Linked DNA regions of Homo sapiens: regions 2 and 3 are each linked to region 1. The links are contacts of gene promoters, found by promoter capture Hi-C in blood cells and fetal thymus (Javierre and others, 2016). All regions are on one chromosome and are shown on one strand. The core of a region is centred on a gene start or on the middle of the fragment in contact, and the rest is flanking DNA. Distances in the headings are between cores, read along the strand shown.

Evidence for each region. The method cuts DNA at HindIII sites, captures the fragments that hold promoters and counts their contacts. A CHiCAGO score of 5 or more calls a contact.
Region 2: a fragment that was not itself captured here is called in contact with the fragment with the promoter of LDHB in region 1 in 2 of 17 cell types (fetal thymus and non-activated CD4 T cells); the score reaches 5.6 in fetal thymus.
Region 3: a fragment that was not itself captured here is called in contact with the fragment with the promoter of LDHB in region 1 in 6 of 17 cell types (fetal thymus, total B cells, non-activated CD4 T cells and 3 more); the score reaches 7.8 in fetal thymus.

Annotation. Positions count from the first base shown.
Region 1 is chr12:21,656,428-21,659,127 of GRCh38, reverse strand. It overlaps LDHB (lactate dehydrogenase B), which reads left to right and starts at 1,286. Exons shown (of 8, transcript NM_002300.8): 1 at 1,286-1,377. RefSeq lists enhancers at 805-984, 859-1,387, 1,365-1,614, 1,645-1,734. The HindIII fragment of the contact is 8,571 bases long and covers 1-2,700 here.
Region 2 is chr12:21,473,307-21,476,006 of GRCh38, reverse strand. RECQL (RecQ like helicase) reads left to right here. Exons shown (of 15, transcript NM_002907.4): 9 at 183-331; 10 at 422-539; 11 at 1,028-1,166; 12 at 2,365-2,456. Among named protein-coding and RNA genes, the nearest start is that of RECQL, 27 kb to the left of the region's middle. The HindIII fragment of the contact is 499 bases long and covers 1,131-1,629 here.
Region 3 is chr12:21,431,484-21,434,183 of GRCh38, reverse strand. No RefSeq gene overlaps it. Among named protein-coding and RNA genes, the nearest start is that of PYROXD1, 4.8 kb to the left of the region's middle. The HindIII fragment of the contact is 2,123 bases long and covers 362-2,484 here.

The DNA.
Region 1 (2,700 bases), core at 37-2,536:
TATTGTAATTGAAATAGGTTGCCTACTTGTCTGTCTCCAATGGACTAGGAACACCTCAAAGGGCATAATCTTATATTTATGTTTTTTACCAATGCTTGGCACTGAGAATAAACTGAAGCAATAATTATAGAATTAGTGGTCATATACAAGAAATATGCATTTACAAAAAAAAACACTTCACATACAGGAAGTTTGTGAGATGGCTATATTTGAAAGCATTTTAATTATAAGAAAACAGAACTGAAGCCAGACTCTTCAGAATTCCTCCAATTTATCATTCATTCATTTATTCATCAATGCTATATTTAGGTACCAAGCACTGGCTGAGTGTTGAAGACAGAATGAATGACAACATCCAGCTTTGGAGTCGATTAGGGACTAAAAAAGAAAGTGCATCTCACTTAGTGGTCCCACATTTCCCCTAGAGGGCAAAGCCTGACCTTGAGACCAGGTGGAATTGTAGGGGAACTTCAGATGGCAGGGACAAAGCCTCATTGGTCTTGTCAGGCAACGAGTAAGCAATCATTGCGTGTTTGTTGAAACAGGTTGAAAAAAATAGTCATTTTCATCAAATGAACTTTAAAACGGAGATGATCTAAATTCAGATGTATTTTTTTAAGTCCTTTAAAGTTTAACTGAAATGCAACATAGAAATTTATTTCTGGCCGGGCGCGGTGGCTCAGGCCTGTAATCCCAGCACTTTGGGAGGCCGAGGCGGGCGGATCACGAGGTCAGGAGATCGAGACCATCCTGGCTAACACGGTGAAACCCCCCTCTCTACTAAAAATACAAAAAATTAGCCGGGCGAGGTGGCGGGCGCCTGTAGTCCCAGCTACTCGGGAGGCTGAGGCAGGAGAATGTCGTGAGCCCGGGAGGCGGAGCTTGCAGTGAGCCGAGATCGCGCCACTGCACTCCAGCCTGGGCGACAGAGTGAGACTCCGTCTCAAAATAAAAAAAAGAAGGAAAGAAATTTATTTCTATTTGTACTAAATCTAATAGAACAAGAGCGTTAAAGTCCAGAAGAGTCGGGGATGGGCAAGTTTTATAAATAACTTGGCCTCCGCATTGAAGAGCCTGCGAGATGTGAGACCAGCTGAGAGCGGAAGCCTCTGGAAGGAGACCTCCTCATCTGGAGGGTGGGGGAGGGAGTGTGCATACTTGAGCCCTTGTCCTTGAAGGGGATTGAGCGAGCCGAGGGGAGGGGTAGGCGGTACTCGGATTTCCAATCACAATGGAGAAACCTAAGAGGCTGCGGTGGTTGTGGGGCCCCGCCCCCTCCTCCCTCCTTGCAGAGCCGGCGCCGGAGGAGACGCACGCAGCTGACTTTGTCTTCTCCGCACGACTGTTACAGAGGTCTCCAGAGCCTTCTCTCTCCTGGTAGGTTTCGGCTCAGGACCCTGAATCCTGGCCCACAGGCAAGCCTGATGGGACGTGCGGGGTAGTACTTGTATGGGGAGACGCGGGAAGGAGGAAGAAGCACATCTGTCCTCCGCGGCCTTTAGCTCTGAGCATCCGGCCGCGGGCCCTGACTTTGCCGCTCAGTTTGGGGCGCAGGGGGGGCCGTGCCCTGGCGGAGGAGCAGAAGGCAGAGGGTAGCAGCTGCGGCTCAGCGGAGAGACTTGTTGCATTTGCAGCTAAAACCAGGCCCTACTTGTCCTTGGTGGGTTCATGGCGGCCACATCACCCCCACGGCCTGCTGGCGGGAGTCGGGACACGTGCCCGAGTAGCTGGGGGAGGGGGACGGAACCAGGTGGCCTATGAAGGCTGGACGATCTTTACCTCGAATATTTGAATATATTGCCACGGTAATAGAGAAATGCCCTTGCACTCGCTGGGATGAGGAGAAAGGCACCTAGATGACCAGCACGTTTGGCGCTGCACTTATTTTTACCCGGCTCTGACGGTCTTTCCAGGAGCCATGCGCCAGTTCTTTCCTGCAGGGCCTCTTTTCTGGATGCTTAGGGGCTTCGTTTACTTTACCAGCCTTGGGTGCTCCGAGTAAGGAAGTCCTAGACTTGTCCCCACAGACCTTACTCGGGGAGATCTCTAGCTTCTGCATGCCCTCGTGATCTGCTGTTCTTTGCTGCCGGTGCCCTGAGGAAAAGATGGTTTGTGCGCACCGCGAGCAGTACAAGCTGCAGTAAGGGCCTGGGGAATGGGGGGAGGGGAGGAATTCAAAAGCAAAACCTGAATTTTTAAAAGATTACGGTGAGAAAGATTCTGCAAAGAAGATCTTTGTTCCTGAAATTAAGGCGCTCCTTTATTTCTAATGATTTATATCCACAGCAGTGAGGAGACATAAGGGACCAAGACTCAGAGATTTTTACCGTTTGTCGTTCTTGTTCCTTACAGCCTGCACTCTGATGTTGGCACAGGCCTGTATATCATGCAGACCATTTTCTTCTCATTTCTTAAAACTCTTTTTAAGGAAAAATTGAAGAAAAGCACTTTCTCCAGAAATATCTGAAAGAAAATCTGGTTCGAGCCTTTAAATTGTACTTCCTGAAGTTTTCTAAATTAAAAGGTCTATCAGAACAACGAATCTGTATTTATATAGCCACTGTTTCTTCATTTTCATTTTCCACTGCTTCCTGGGCCCCCTGTATACCAAAACGGTCGTAAACAGACCATCTAACAACAATAAACTTAAGTGCAGAACAACTATTCATGTGTGTCGTCCTTCAAAAAGAGATGCAGCAT
Region 2 (2,700 bases), core at 131-2,630, 180 kb after region 1:
AGCTGGTGCTCAAATCTGGAATTATACCAAAATGTCAATATATGCACAAGGCCTTGAAATTTTTCATAATTCTTTTTTTCCTTCTGTGCATTGTATTAATCAATGTCCTGAATGTGTGTGTTGAAAACCATCTTCCAGGAATATGCCATATCTATCTAACAAATGCACATATTTTACTGCAGGAATCATATATTGTTTTTCTCAGAAAGACTCTGAACAAGTTACGGTTAGTTTGCAGAATCTGGGAATTCATGCAGGTGCTTACCATGCCAATTTGGAGCCAGAAGATAAGACCACAGTTCATAGAAAATGGTCAGCCAATGAAATTCAGGTTAGGTCTATATCTTCCATAGAAGCCTAATTTACCTTTAAAATATTTAAACTTGATTTAATTAACTGATAAAATGTTAAAATATTTCAGGTAGTAGTGGCAACTGTTGCATTTGGTATGGGAATTGATAAGCCAGATGTGAGGTTTGTTATCCATCATTCAATGAGTAAATCCATGGAAAATTATTACCAAGAGAGTGGACGTGCAGGTATGTAGGACTCAAATCCAGAAGTAAATTTTTAGAAAGCTTTTCCAAAAAATACATGATAAATGCTTAATAAGTCTGTATGTTTTATCTTTATTGGATAGTATTTTTAGAACAATGTATTTTTAGCAGTTTGACACTTACTTGCATATGGAGAAATTTTTACTTATGTTCTGTTATCTGAATTGTTTCTTTTTATGTGTGTTAAGATAATTTGATGTTCATCTTTGCCTCCTGAATTTTTAATTAGTGATTTCAAATCTATAACTTAACTGGATTATAGACACATTTTTTAACTTAGTAGAGCTGATTATTGATGTCTCTTTAGAGTTTTTTTTAATTTGAGGGTACCCATTACAAATTAACTTCCACATCTCTAAAATTTCTAGATGTAGTATAAAACATTGCCTGCTAATTTTACCATATGTCATTTTTGCATATTTTGAATTTGTAAATGTAATTCTGCAATCTCAAGGTTTCTCACACCACAGGTCGAGATGACATGAAAGCAGACTGTATTTTGTACTACGGCTTTGGAGATATATTCAGAATAAGTTCAATGGTGGTGATGGAAAATGTGGGACAGCAGAAGCTTTATGAGATGGTATCATACTGTCAAAACATAAGCAAGTAAGCCACATACCTTTTTATAACTTTTATCAATTAAAGCAAATATGAAAGTATATGACATCGTTTTTAAGTTCTTACTAAATACATTGGTGGAACACCAAAGTGCAGATCCATAAAAGCAGATGTTGGAGGGTAGGAACCAGCACATCAACCTGTATGATCTGCCTTAGTTCAAGAAAAGATGCCCTATCTTTGAGATAATCCTCCAAAACTACTTTTTTAATTGAAGGTTTTTGAGACACATTGATAGCAACTTGAAGGCTTTTTTTCTCTGGCACTGCTGTACAGTTACATGATTTAATAATTTTGAAAAGGTCTATGGTTAAGATAGGCATTTTGAGAGTCAAGCTCAGTAACGTGCCACCTTGCCAGCTCATGTGTCAATGAAATACCAAGTTTCTCCTTAAGAAGTAAGTTTAAATCTACTTAGGGTGGCTTTAGACTAGATAGCTTCCTGAAAGCTTTCTGTCATAGTTATCTTTGTGCTTTTATTGCCTATCACATAAGAAGTGCTCAGAAATGTCGAGGTGGTAAATAGCAGCCAGACAGTGATAGAAATGTTCTTTCTTTCCAATAGATACTACAATAATCTAGTTAAAAGAAATGAGAAAATGAAAATGTCTTCCAAAGGCCAGTAGAGTCTCATGAAGCATATTTTAAGGTTTCAACTCAAATATTGCTACTTTATTAAAATATAAGAAACTATTTTACTGTCAAGAATATTCTCCTAATAGTTGCAAAACATTGAATTTAAAAATGGAACTCAGACAATTTTTTAAACAGTGTTTATCAAGAATATGTGGGGAAAAAAGTCCTATGTCGGGGGCACAATGGCCCCCCAAAGATGTTCACGTCCTAATTCCTAACCTGTATGTTACCTCACATGGCAAAAGGAAAGTAGCATTGCACATGGAATTAAGACTGTTCATTAGCTGACCTTAAAATAGGGAGATTATTTTAGATTGTGTGATGTGAGAAGAACCTGACACTCTGATTTTGATCCAGTGAAACCCATAGTACACTTCTAAATCTAAACCACAGAAATGTAAGAATAAATGTGTTTAAAGCCACTAAGTTTATGGTAATATTATGGCAGTTATAGGAAGCTAATACAGTATATAACTATGTAAGCTGAAATAGAGATTCTTAAAACTTTATTATATCCTTTAATAATTTGTATCTTTAAATGTGTTTGCAGATGTCGTCGTGTGTTGATGGCTCAACATTTTGATGAAGTATGGAACTCAGAAGCATGTAACAAAATGTGCGATAACTGCTGTAAAGACAGTGGTGAGTTTGTTGTTTTGTAAACCTTTATAGGCTAATACAGTCATAATGCCTAGTGACAGAGATACGTTCTGAGAAATGCATCACTAGGTGATTTTGTCATTGTGCAAACATCAAAGTGTACTTACATAAACCTAGATGGTATAGTCTCCTAGGTGATATGTTATAGCCTATTGATCCTAGGCTACCAATCTGTACAGCGTGTTACTGTACTGCATACTGCAGGCAGCTGTAACACATGGTTAAG
Region 3 (2,700 bases), core at 174-2,673, 230 kb after region 1:
GCTGATGTTTTCAGGGGCTTTAAGATTGGAGGGTGGGTAAGGAGTAAGGAGAGGAAAGAGCCTCACTGTTGTTCCTGTATGAGCATATATATGCAAACCTACCCCCAAAGGCTGAGAGAGCTGAGAGGCCAAAGAAAAACTGACAAATCCAGTTTCTCAGAAAGAGGTATTTAATAGGGACTTACACACAGAAATGATGATTCTGTTACAGTGCATCCCCACACCTGCCCTCCAGAAATTATGTAAGCTTTTAGGATAAAAGATGTACAGCTGATCATGTCTCAGACTTTCTTGCAAAACTCATGAACACTGGGGAGTCTAGATAAGAATCTTAATGAGAGAATTATCTAAGTTACAAGCTTTGTTTCTTTTGAAGGGTTATCTATGCTATGGGCATTGTTTAAGGACCTTGCTGCAGAACACCTTAGTATGCAGGAATCCAACATCAGTCATCATGGCCGTGGTGTCATTCTTGCCATACCGCAGGCTGTCTTCCTATATCTATGAATCAGTGGTGTGGTACAACTGTGAATCTGTGAGAGCTGATTGTTAAAATTTTAGGATTTGTGTGAGCTGATTGTTAACACAGCTATTGTTAAACACTAAATTGTATAAACATAATCAAATAAGTTATATTAAGACAAAGGTAATAAATATTCAAAACTTCTTATTTCCTAACTCTTTTGCTATTATCTCTACTCTTGAGGTTATTTACATCTATTGTATCTACAGGTAAAAATATAATGGTGGGCTACTATACATTTCTTCCTACTGCCTCATTCAGCGACGTCATGTTGATCTTGAAATTGGCCGTAATAGGAGTATTTACACCATGGAAAATGGCAGATTATACAAACCAGAGTTTGATTTATTTTATTGTTGATTTTTTAGAGTTAAAAAGGTGGTGGACAATAGCAAAGACATGGGATCAACCCAAATGCCCATCAATGATAGACTGGATAAAGACAATGTGGTACATATACACCATGGAATACTATGCAGCCATAAAAAGGAATCAAATTATGCCCTTTACACTGACATGGATGGAGCTGGAGGCCATTATCCTTAGCAAACTAACACAGGAACAGAAAACCAAATACCGTATGTTCTCACTTATAAGTGGGAGCTAAATGATGAGAACAGCATGGACACACAGAGGGAAACATCACACACTGGGCCTGTCTGAGGGTGGAGGTAGGAGGAGGGAGAGGATCAGGAAAAGTAATTAATGGATACTGGGCTTAATACCTGGGTGATGAAATAATCAGTACAACAAACCCCCCATGACACATGTTTACCTATGTAACAAACCTTCACATCCTGTACATGTACCCCTGAACTTAAAAGTTAAAGAAACACAAAATAGATGGAGACTCATTTAAAAAAACTGATGGAGAGAATGTTAATAATGAAATTAAAAGAGTGTCATGTCTGTTGTGGTAGATTGTAGTACACTGTGAATAGCACAAAAAAACTGAAGAAATTCTTTTTTCAGAGAGCTGCTATTCAATTTAGCAAAGAACTCACTAATATCAGACAAACAAGTGAAATTGCAACCTATTGTTCCTTTGTTTCACTTCCATCTTACTAGTTAATGTAAATAGAAAAGTCAATCAACATTCAAACTACACTCATCAATTGCTGTCATAGTTTGGGTAATACAAGCAAAAATCAATGAAAGGATTCTGTAGAATCAGCTGGCTATATGGAATTTACAATAAAGAGTATTGCATATTATTATTTGTAAAATATTTGCTATACACCTTTCAATAAAATTTATAATAAACCTATGTATATATACATACACACACACACATATATTTATACATGCAGTTTTTTCAGACAGCCAGTTGTTCAACATTTGCCGGCACAAACATTAGTTATAATCTAGCATCGCTGTTTTCATGGTGTGGCTGATTCCAAATGTTGATTCTCTGCTGGGGTGCTTTTATGGGTACATCAGAATCTCCACATCACTGGGGATCTCTCACCTACAGGTTCTGGGCCTTTCCTTCTCCAGATTCAGTCCCTTTTAAGATGAAACAGGGTCCACAATGGGCTTCTGGGAAACTCACTCATCCTTTGTCCCCACTAGACTCTGAAAGTGCACATCAAGCCAACAGAGCATCTCTCTTTTCTGCTGTCCGAATGTCTACCTAGTCACACCTCTGTGTCTTCAGTGGAATGAAGTATCAGTTTCTGCATCATTCGGACTCCAGGGGCTACCTGTAAAGCTCTCTAAATGGTTCCCTTAACGTCCTCCTCACTTGTGCTGCGGACAGGGCATTGGTGGTGGTGGGGTGAAACACTTTCCCTTCCTCTTCCCCATATGCTTCGTGAGCATGTTGGAGCAGGGAGTGAATGTGATGCACTAATGCTGGCAAAACCAATTTTATAGTCTTTTAGCACGCGTTGCCTGTGTGGTCTAGTACCTTGCGTTGAAGGCATTGGTCAACTTGACGCCTATTATACTGTTCTTAAGCTTTTGGAGCTGAATTAACCAGAAAAATCACATTTAACCCCATGATATACCATGTTTGTTTTATAAATATTAAACTTATACCATTTAGAAAACTGAATGCATTTCTTACACCATATTCCCTCAACTTCAAAGTGTAGTTTCTCAAGTCCTACCAATTCTAAAGTGTTTCCCAGTTCCTTCATTTCAGTTTTGACTGTTACTGCGCTATTTTTGGTCTT